Linked DNA regions of Homo sapiens: region 2 is linked to region 1. The links are contacts of gene promoters, found by promoter capture Hi-C in blood cells and fetal thymus (Javierre and others, 2016). All regions are on one chromosome and are shown on one strand. Each heading gives the region's core, a stretch centred on a gene start or on the middle of the fragment in contact. The rest is flanking DNA. Distances are from core to core; before and after follow the strand shown.

The links. Contacts are between HindIII fragments. The CHiCAGO score rates a contact against its expected background, and 5 or more counts as called.
Region 2: a contact is called between a fragment that was not itself captured here and the fragment with the promoter of KLRF2 in region 1, in 1 of 17 cell types (neutrophils). The highest score is 5.2, in neutrophils.

Annotation. Positions count from the first base shown.
Region 1 is chr12:9,878,882-9,884,461 of GRCh38, reverse strand. KLRF2 (killer cell lectin like receptor F2) reads right to left here and starts at 2,973. Exons shown (of 6, transcript NM_001190765.1): 1 at 2,797-2,973. The coding sequence starts at 2,866. It also overlaps a transcript of CLEC2A not described here. The HindIII fragment of the contact is 1,448 bases long and covers 1,617-3,064 here.
Region 2 is chr12:10,019,306-10,025,191 of GRCh38, reverse strand. All of the region lies in intron 2 of LOC102724020 (a long non-coding RNA gene), which reads left to right. Among named protein-coding and RNA genes, the nearest start is that of CLEC9A, 8.4 kb to the left of the region's middle. The HindIII fragment of the contact is 6,473 bases long and covers 517-5,886 here.

The sequences.
Region 1 (5,580 bases), core at 1,724-4,223:
GGGAAAGAAATATTTATTAAAATTCTATTATATACCAGTCACTGTACTGGAAATATCCACATTTTATTTCACCTTACACCTGTAATATATTATATTTTTCTGGGTTTGACTCTTTAGACAGGAGTCAGTTTCAGCTTAGGTAGTATTAGATCTCCAATTAATGATGCTTATATGACATCTATGCTATAGTATTTCATCGCATTAGAGTTGGCAAGAATAGCTTCCTTATAAAGGAATAAACAAGTAATCTCTAGAGAGGTTAAACAGGGGCATGTATAATAATCCTCTTTCAATTTTATCTACTTTTTTCCACATATTAGCACTTTTGAATAAATTGGATGTATACACTTTTTTCACAAAACTATGACAGGTTCCTTTTATATGCAGACATCATATAATTAATATCTCAATCTACAATCATTTTAGTCAGTTTGCCAGGCTAGTGGCCAAAGAGAAAGCAAAGTAATTTGAGATACTCTGATAATTATTCCCTATTTTTTATTCTTTTATCTATAAACAAACATTTAATTTCATCACCTTGGTTGTACATTTCACAAATAATTTGTCTTCTAAGTCATAATAAAAGTGCTGTTTCTCAAATCTAATTTCTGTGTGGATGCTTTACTTCAATAGGTTTTATGGATTTACTGCATTTGATTAGATCTATAGTATATACTTAGAGAATTTACTGTATGTAGTGTACCTTTTGAAATTTGCTACTCAATTGTCTGTATTACTAAGTCCAAAATAATTTTCTTTCTTTTTCTTCCCTGTAGATATTTCTGCTGTTCAAGCAAATATGGAAAGACTTCTACTTAATTGAAAATCGTCAAAATACATTTCTGCAATTTTATGAGAAAATATCAATCAAGGGTATATGGATCTGTAGTTAACAAGTGCTCTTTCCATACATGCCAGGGAGGGAGACTTTAAACTTCTTGCCAAATAAGATTTATAAAAAACTGAACAATAGACCAAAAATTAATATTTTCATGTAAGCCATGATTTACATACTATATCAAGCCAGGTGAACAGAGAGCTGAGTACATGAAGTGCAGTATGCTGGCCTATCCTAGCACTGCTTGGCTAGATGCCATTGGCTTACACAGGGCTATATGAAGAAATTGTCTTACAAAATCTGCTGGTGCTACTATTGCAAGAACACTAATTGTATTATTTTATGTGCTTCATGAGAACTCAGGAAAATATTTTTTCTGATTTAGGATCAAGATTAATTATATCAATCTTAAGGAATAGGTGTAACTTTATCTTATACACAATGTGAACTGAACAACTGGTAAGAATTCCCTTAGGTCAGTAATAACAAGGAAGCTTGGAAGCAAATGTATAGCAAGCACAAACATGCCTACAGTAATTTTTCTGGCCCAATTTATTTTCCCAGCCCTATCCTTCCTTCATTCATAATTTAAATGGATATTATCTTATATTTTATGTATCAATACTCAGATTTTAAGTCTCTGTACACATTTGTATATTAAAAAGTAGTTTATAGATTAAAAAATAGTAAATTTAGTTTAACATCCACATAAAAGCATCATCAGGTAGATTTTTCTTATTATATATCAAAGTATTGAGATTTAAGAAGGCTAAAAGCTTCTGCCCAGAGCCATACATTTAGTCTGTGGGCTTTAGGGTCTGAATAATTTTTTTTGTTTTTTTATATATGGAGTCTTGCTCTGTCACTCAGGCTGGAGTGCAGTGGCATGATCTCAGCTGACTGCAACCTCCGTCTCCCGGGTTCAAGCGATTCTCCTGCCTCAGCCTCCCAAGTAGTTGGGATTACAGGCACACGCCACCATACCCAGCTAATTTTTTTTGTATTTTTAGTAGAGACGGGGTTTCACCATGTTGGCCAGGCTGGTCTCGAATTCCTGACCTCAGGTGACCCGCCCACCTCTGCATCCCAAAGTGCTGGGATTACAGGCATGAGCCACCGTGCCTGGTCTGCCTCAGTCAATTTAACACCAATGGTACTAGTTTTTGCTGCATGGAAGTAAGTTACTATTGAAAAAGTAAACATTTGTTTCATGATATTGAAACACAAAAAAGATCTGAGTCTTCAGATAATAACAAAAGTGTCATTTTGTGGGGGCAGGGGGTGCAGGGGAAGTTTGCATTTGCTAGATATAAAATGAGATTGTACACGAGAATGTTCAATACATATGGCAGAACTGCCACTGCGACTGGTAATTCTGAATTTCTGGCCTATGTCATCTTAACTTAGGTCTTGGCTATTTCAACAAGATTGTTTTCAAAATTCCTGAAAAAGCAAACAAAGCCAACCACAGAGCAGCCCTAAGGAGCAAAGATTAATGTTTTTTTGTTTTTTTTTCTCTCTTCTCGCATTCCCAGTAGATTGTTCTACCAATCCTATAGGGCTTTTACGAAGATTAAAAATATTATATATGTATAAGCATAAATATATATATAAGCATATATATACGCTTTAAGTTTATATAAACTTTAAGTTTTGTAGGAGGAAGTTTCTGTAAAAACACAATTTTTCAGCCTTTTCTTCGAAAGTGATGTTCTTATGCTACAACACACAGGATTACACATCGTCATATTCGCATTTCTCTTACCTCATGGCTCTGAAAATGCAGACTTTTTATTGTTGATGCTTTCATGAATCTAAATAATCTAACAGACAATTTATGACCATTTTTATATTCCTTATTATGATCAATGTTAAGATGTTAAAAATATTCTAAGATAATTCTCTTCCTAGAAGAATAATGAAATTTTAAATGCGGTGATGGGGAGCAGTATTCCTACCTTTAGATTTCTGCTTCGATTTACAACGATTCTTGAAACTCAGCGTCATATACCCATCTTCATTCTCCATCTCTTCAAATGTCTAATGTCTTATTATCCAGAAAATAGTACAAAGAAAATGGAAACTAATCTCAACCTTGGATATGTCTCTTTGGCACAAGGTACTAAAAGAAAACTAAAAGGAAGGCCAAAAATAGTCAAAATTTACTCAGACACAGATGTCTAAAACCACACAGGATGTGTTGGTAAATGAAAATGGATATAAGCTTGTTAATATCTGGCTACAATTCTGTGAATTTCAAGGTAAAGGTAGCTAGTGTGTTCCACTGTTTTCAACAAATGGACTTGTGTGTTCCTGCCACTTGTGTGCGGTGTATTAGAAACATAATTCCTTCCTTCATGTCTTTTATAATAAAGTAAGAGAAAAAATAAAATAAAACAAATAATCTCTAAACAAACAGAACAAATGTCTAGGTAAATAAAAATTCAAATTAAAAAAGTTAAAATAGCAATTTTGTTATTTGGGACATATTTGACTAGTAGAGTCCAAATAACGATGGTTAGATGGGACAAAAATAGGAAAATAAAAGATCAGCAAGTCTCAAGTTAGTGAAAATCGGAATCACTTGCAAAGAATTTAACTTTTTAAACTTTTTTGTTTGTTTGTTTGTTTTTCAGAAAACGCCAGGCAGATTTTCCTTCAGTAGGTGTGGCAGTTTATTTTGTGTCAACTTGGCTGAGTCACAGAGAGTCCAGATAGTTGATCAGACATCATTCTGCTTATTTCTGTGAGGGTGTTTTTGGATGGGATTCATATTTAAATAGGTGACCTTTGAGTAAGGCAGATTTGCCTCCTCTGTAATGTGACTGGGCCTTATTGAGTCAGTTGGAGCCTTGAATAGAACAAAAAGACTTGTCTTCCCTGAGTGAGAGAGAATTCTCCAGCAATGGCCTTCAGACTATCTGCAGCATTAGCTCCTCCTGATTCTACAGACGGTGGACTTTGCATTTGAATTGAGCCTTCCTAGGTACCCAGTCTGTCCATGCTCATTTGCAGAATTTTGACTTACCAGCCTCCATAATCACATTCCTTATTTTATATATATTTCACTTAACACGCACACACACACACACACACACACACATGCTAATGGTTCTGTTTCTGCTACGTGGCCACTCAATATCAATCCATTGATTTAACACCGAGTGTCTGGGGAAGGTGGCTGACTGTTTCCCACAGCACATGTTGTGTTCACCTGATTATTGAGTCTCCTCCTCAACACTGGATGTCACTTGTGAGTATTTACATGGGAATGAATATTTACACACGCCGCGTCCATTCTGCATGATCTCTATATGTACCTCTTAGCTTCTCATTCATTTTTCTATTTTGTTCTTTTTGAGTTTCCGACAAGTCATCTCACCTATTAGTTTCTGATAAGATGATTTAGATGTATTTCTCTGAGTGCTTATCCTTCCTGTTAGGTTCACAACCAGACATATTGTCCAAACTTCTGTTCAGTGGGAAGACTTACCTTCACTTCTGTCTTTCACAGTCTTCTCCTGAATGGGACTGTAGTGTGGCATCTATTCCAGCTGCCGTATTTTACATAACCACTGATAAACTTATTTTTTTCAACTACTTCAGTGTAAGATCGTACAGAACCCTCTTTTCCATCCCCAACCCGGGTCATAGGTATGGTTGAGGTGGAGATAGCAAAGGAATGCGAACATGTGCCATCGGAGTCTGAGCCATCTGCTCATGCAGTTTACTGTGCTTCTTTGGAACTGTTCAGGCCTTGCCTCCAAAATGGCACAATTATGTTTGTGATAAAATGCTTCTGTGCACTTCTAAACATAGGGTTCATTGGGTCAAAGTGGTCAAGTTGGATCAAGTTAATGGTGGTGAACATATGTCTTATAAAAATATGTAGTAGGTTTACTGCCTACTTTTCACCAGGAACAGTTGGCATGATAGCATCAATGTAATGAATCTATTGTGTGCAACCAGTTCTGAGGTATAACATATTGGGAGCTATATCAAGATGATTTAGTTCCCTCTGGGCCATCTTATAACAGAGATCAGGAGAGCTGACATACACCTGGGCAAGGCAGCAAAGAAATACTTGTTATTTCTGTTTGTAAATACAAGCCGGAAACCATCACAGGTTCTCAGCTTTTTCCCAGTGTATAGTCATTCAAGAAAATGACTGAAGTTTCCTCCGGTTTAGGTGTTGGGGAATAAATATCATAATTACACCTGTGGCCATGTTACAATGTCCTTCACCAAGAGACCAAACCTACCTCCTCCCCAGTTGAGTGGTTCCTGGTCTGCGAAGAGCTTTGCCTACTAACTATATGGAAGTCTGGGGATTGGGTAAGACACAATGAATCTCCTCTCTGAAAATACGGGCTAAGTTTCTGGGCAACATACATGTAATTTTCCTTAGCATATCAAGCAGCTCCTTAGTGAAATATCCTTTTTTGTTTGTTTTTCTTTTCTTTTCTTTTTTTTTCATTTCCCAAAACTTAAAATCAGCTAATCATTGTCACAGATTTCTGTGGATGAAAACTCTGATTACTAATCATTCCCTCTGGCTTATTGTGGCAACTGCAACCCCTTGACCTCTAGAATCAAATTATTGCCGTTGATATCAGAAAGCCTGATTCCGCTGTAGCATCTCCCAATACATCTATAGTCAACAGTGAACAGTTGCCACAGCAGGTCGTCACCAGGTTCCCTCACAAAAGCATTCTCCATCCCCCCATCCTCCTAAAAAATCG
Region 2 (5,886 bases), core at 2,504-5,003, 140 kb before region 1:
GTGTGTATACTTATCTACAAATATTAAGTTGCATATATTACGTATGTACAGCTTTTACATGTCAATTATACCCAATAAAGTGGTTTTTAAAGAAGAAATGTTTATGAATGAGGCAGGCAAGTAGGGATGGCATGCCTAGTGGCTTCAAATCAGTCAACATCAGACCAGCAACAGGGGCTATGGGGGGAGATAGCAATACATAAGGCAAGAAAATTGCTGAGGACGGATTTAATTAGGAAAAGTAATAAAATGTATACTTAAAACAAGATGACACCTGGGGTGGGGTCACCATTTATGGGAAGTGTCATTGCATACCATCTTCTGTGTTCTGATAGCATGCTGAAATCTATTATTTATTATATATAATAAATCTATATTCTGTTGCATTGCATTGTCTCACAGCTATGATTCTGTGAAAAGATAATAGGGCTCTGGCATGTATTGGACCTGGTTCAGAACCTAACTTCACCCTTTCCGGCTGTAAAACCTTAGCCAAGCTTTGTTCTAAATCAAGCTTTAGTTTCCACATGTATGGAATGATCTCAGATGAGATCACATATTGAATTTGTCAAGTTCCTGCCATGTTAGGGCCATCTTAAAAATTGTAGGCCCCTTTGCCCCTAGCTTTGAGCTTATTGTGGTTAAGGGTCCTGTCATGCTGATCTTCATATCTATCCCAAGGGTTTGCATATCGACTAGCACTTGGTTGACACACACACAAAATCTATTGTTAAATAAGTGAATAATTTGCAGCTGCCAGTCGCACCTGTCGAAATATCAGTTGTGCATTTGGTAGACCCAGATAAAGAGAGACCAGAAATCTGGTTTTCAGTCCAATTCACCTTCCTGGGACTCATTTCCCACCCTCCTTGATGCATTTTTTGGCTCTGTAAGTTTTGAGAGGTATTCCTTCCCAACTTGTCCTATTTAGACACAAAAGAGCTTCAAAATAAAGACAGAAACAATCAAATACTGTCTTCTTGCACTGGAAATTGAAGGTCAGTACTTGAAGAACAAGAGAGAATGGAGCCCCCTAGAAATTACTCTACTCAAAATACAACTTACAGATCATATGGGCTGGACAAGATTGGTGAAGCCAACATCAATTCACCCATAGAGAGTAATTTTTCTCAGAAACAAATTCTGTCTAGAAACAAAGAAAGCTGGAGAACTGAAAATAATGGCCTTGGTAACTATAACAGTAACAATTAGTGTTTCCCTACAATTTCCAGTGCTATGCTAAGGAATCAAAAAGGTGAAAGGGTCTGGACCCTATCCTTGTCCACCTCGTTTCTGGCCTCCACATCACAAAGGGCACAGAAGATACAAAAATAGTCCATGGGCAATATAGTGCCTGTCTCAGGTAATTACCTAGGGCTACCTGCCATCTACTATTCACCCTGTTGCTCCCCTCCATGATTTCTCTTCCCTGATGAGCTGATGCTCAGCCGCTGAACCAACTTTCATTATTGTGTTTGTATTTAAAAACTGTTGCCTTTCAGTTACACTGAGATAATTTTCCCAAGGAAAATATCATTGGTGGTGAAAACCAAGCTAAGCACCCAATGCAGGAATGTTCTTGGGACTGGAAGGATCATGCAAATCTGCTCTCTAAGGGGAAGCAGAGGATGGTAAATGTAAGAACAGCTAAACTTAACTGGGTCTTCACTGTACCATGTGGGTTATCTCTCTTTTTGTTTTCTTCACAAAAATCTCAGAGGATGGGCACGAGTTTTGTCACCCTATTATGAAAAGGGTTTACATAATTTAAGAGCCCTGTCTGCTATGGTGTGAATGCTTGTACCCTCCAAAATTCACGTTGTAATTTAATTACCATTATAATAGTTATTAAAGTGTGAAACTTTAAAGAAGTGATTGGCTGGGTGAGGCGGCTCACACCTGTAATCTCAACACTTTGGAAGGCCAAGGCAGGAGGATCACTTGAAGCCAGGAGTTCAAGAGCAGCCTGGTCAACATAGCAAGATCCCATTTCTACAAAAAATTTATTTTTGAAAAATAGTTGAACATGGTGGTGCCCACCTGTGGTACCTACCAGTTCCTCAAAAGACTGAGGCAGGAGGATTAATTGAGCCCAGGAGTTCAAGGTTGCAGTGAACCGTGATCGCACCACTGCAGTCCAGCCTGGGTGACAGAGCAAGACTCTGTCTCTAAATATAAAAACAAACAAAGAGATCATTAAGGGGCACAGCCCTCATGGGTGGAATTAATGCTGTTATAAAAGGATGAGTTCCATCCCCTTTTGCCTCTTGGCCATTCTGCCCTCTGCCACATGAGGATCCCACCTTCCTCCGTTCCCAAGGTTACAGTTGCCTTCTTAAAGAAGAGAATGGCCTCATCAAGCACCAAACCTGCTGGTGCCTTTAACTTACACTTCCCAACTTCTAGAACTGTGAGCCAAGAAATAGATAGAATACTCAGTCTAAGGCATTCTGTTATAGCAGCGCAAAACAGACTGAGACATTGTCTAAAATATACAGCACTTACATTGAGAATAAAAACATAACCCATGGCTGTCTGATTTAAAAAATTTATTGTCTTAAGCACCAAGCTGTACTGCTTCCTAATAAGGGGTTGGGATACTTCCGCCTGCTTGAAAGCTGTGACATATTTTGAAAGAACTGAGAGGAGATGTGTTTTATTATATTTATATTATTATATACCCTCAAAAAGAGAGAGAGAAAGAGAAAGAGAGAGAGAAAGGAAGGAAAGAATGAAGGAAGAAAGGAGGAAGGGAGGGAGGGAGGCAGGGAAAGGAAGGAAGGAAGGAAAGAAAGAAGGAAGGAAGTTTAGGAAGTCAGACAGACAGGTGTATTACTTGTAGTTACTTGTTCAGTAAAACTAATATACCTGTGGAATAAAAAATTATATTTGCTTGAGGACCACATTGTTAATTTTGGCCACCTATTTATAATCTGACTCTTGATTTCAGTCCTCAGCTTCACAGTGGATTCTCATTCCAAAAGTGTATCATTTCCCCTTCTTCCCAATTTGACTCCATCATACCTACCCTGAGGAAAACAATGTTACTAATGTGTCTAAATCCTTCTCCAGGTGCATACAAATGTATACAAGTATGATTATATATGCTTGTATGCAGCCTCGAATATACCATCAATCCTAGTTTCAGGTAATCATCATTATTGTCCCTGTCTCAACCATGTGTAATCATCACCAATGGAGCTAGTTCACCCGTTTTCTTAATATATAATGGAGGGTTGGCTATTTTACTGAAAATAGGGGCCATTGGGCCAACCTCAGTACAAGGATTTTCAACCTTAGCTTCAGATTGGAATCATGTAGGAAATTTAAATTTTTTTAATAGCCCAGCTACACTTCTCATCAATGAAATCAGCATCTTAAGAGGTGGGACAATCTTAGGCATCAGTATTTCCTCAAAGCTCCCCAGTATAATTTCAGTGTGCAGCAAAATTGAGAACTATTTTCAGAGAGCTAAACAGATCAAACTTCATATCACTTGTCCATCCCAACCATGCCAATTAATACCCTCAGTAAGGGCTTGTTGGCTAAGATTACAACAGTGAAATAGTTGAGAACTGTCACTATATCTGTCCCAATTCTGATCTGTCCTGACCTAACGTGGTCTGCACAAACCAAACCAAATTTGCTAACGTTGCAGAAAGAGCCATCCAGTTTGAAGATGGTTCCAGCACCTTCGCCTCTGGGCCTATTTGCTCAGGGAGTTAGTATTGAGGTTATTTATCCAAACATTGCCACTCAGGCTGTGTTAATAAAAATCACCTGTGTAGTTTGAGAAACTTACAGATTCTCCATTTCTGTCTTCCAATCATTCTGATTTTATAGATCTGACGCGTGGCCCAAATATCTGTGCCTTTAAGGGACTATCCATGTAAATCTGATGTGAAGCCATGTTTGGAACCCATGTTAAATTCTCACATTGCTATAAAGAAATACTCAAGACTGGGTAATTTATAAAGAAAAAAGTTTAATTGGCTCACAGTTCTTCAGGCGGTACAGGAAGAATGATGCTGGAAACTGCTGGGCTTCTGGGGAGGCCTCAGGAAACTTACAGTCATGGTGGAAGATGAAGGAGGGGTGGGTACTTCACACGGCTGGAGCAGGAGCAGGAGAGAGGGTGTGGGGTGGGGTTGGTGGGGATGCTACACACTTTTAAACAACCGGATCTTGCGAGAACTCGCTATCATGAGAACAGCACCAAGAAGATGGTGCTAAGTCATTCATGAGAAATCTGCTCCCATAACCCAATCACCTCCCACCAGGCCCCACAACCAGCATTGGGGATTACATCTTGACATGTGATTTGGTAAGGACACAGATCCAAACCATATCAATGGTCTTTCCCCTAAAAATATACCATTTGTATATACCTGTATATATAAATAAAATATCTCAGGGATTTTGACTGGAGAGGGTGTAGGGGCAGTAGGAGAGGAAGAAAGAAAGAAAAAGAAAGAGATGAAAATTTCTGGAATCAAGTCCTGTCTCATAAGCTAAGTTATCAGAATCAAAGGATGAAGTATTCTGACACAAAGGGCTAGTGAATCTTGAGAACTCTGGATTTATGCATCTACTGTAGAGGTCGTCAGGGATAATATGATGATAGCAGGGCAGCAGGGAGGGAGCTCTTAGTAATAGGAGCTGATCAAGATCCAGAGCACTGTAAGGTCAGAAACAGAAATTTTCTTTTAATGAGTATAAAAGAGTTTACATGAAATGAGAATTAAAATATACAAGATACCAGAAAAAAAAACCTGTAACTTCTTAATAGGAACAAAATAACCAACTAAGGTATTTTAATTATTAAAAGTAGATTTTTTTAATTAGAAATAGAGGAATGAAAGAACTTATTTTTCTCATGGGAATAAAACGAAACCCAAATGTGTGAGAGTCAGAGGCACAGATTTTGACCTTTAAGAAATAATTTTATCTTTGTGAGAATGCCAGGGGCAAACTGCTAAAGAGAAATGGAAGAATCAAGTTTCTTCTTTAATCCATGTGTATATAACTTATGTTTGAATCCCGTATAAGAACTAAGAAACACTGTTTACTTGAACTATGATAATTGTCTGTATTTAAAAAGTTGTGCTTAAATATATTGTTTGTAATTTTTACTAAATTTTCACACTTGACATTTTTCCTTTGTTCTAGAGTTTCTGTTGGTGCCTATATAAAACATTGATTAGTTGATAATTTTAAATATTTAGAGAATAAGAAGCTACTAGATGGTATGTATGAAGTGGTAGTTTCAAAGGACTGTCAAAGTATTGAAATGCATCTAACTTTGAATTTAGATTATATCAATTTTCCAGTAAATTCTAGATTTCTGATCTAGCAAAATCAGTATCAAAGGCTAATTTATCATTATTTTCTTCCTATATATAGCTATGGAACTATGTGAAGATAAATGGAAAACTACATCCTTTACCAGTACTCTGAAATCAGCAATTTTGTTCCAGGAAAAATCTTGAACCCTAGATTTACAATATTTAGCATCTAGTGTGCAGGAACACTGACAAACTGTGATTCAGGAAAGGTCTAAATAATTAAAGATAATGGTTCTTCTATTTTGATGTCTTCAAACAGTTTATTAGGACTTTTCTGAGGGAAACAAAATATCAATTGTAAGAGAATATATTTTTATAATAATACCCAGATTACAAAATCAATAACATCAATATTACTAATTTAAATAAATGACAAACACATAAATATTGGCCAGGGGCAGTGGCTCACACCTGTAATCCCAGGATTTTGGGAGGCTGAGGCTGGCAGATAGCTTGAGCCTAGGTGTTTGAGACCAGCCTGGGCAACATGGTGAAACCTCGTCTCTACAAAAAAATACAAAAATTAGCTGAGCATGGTGTT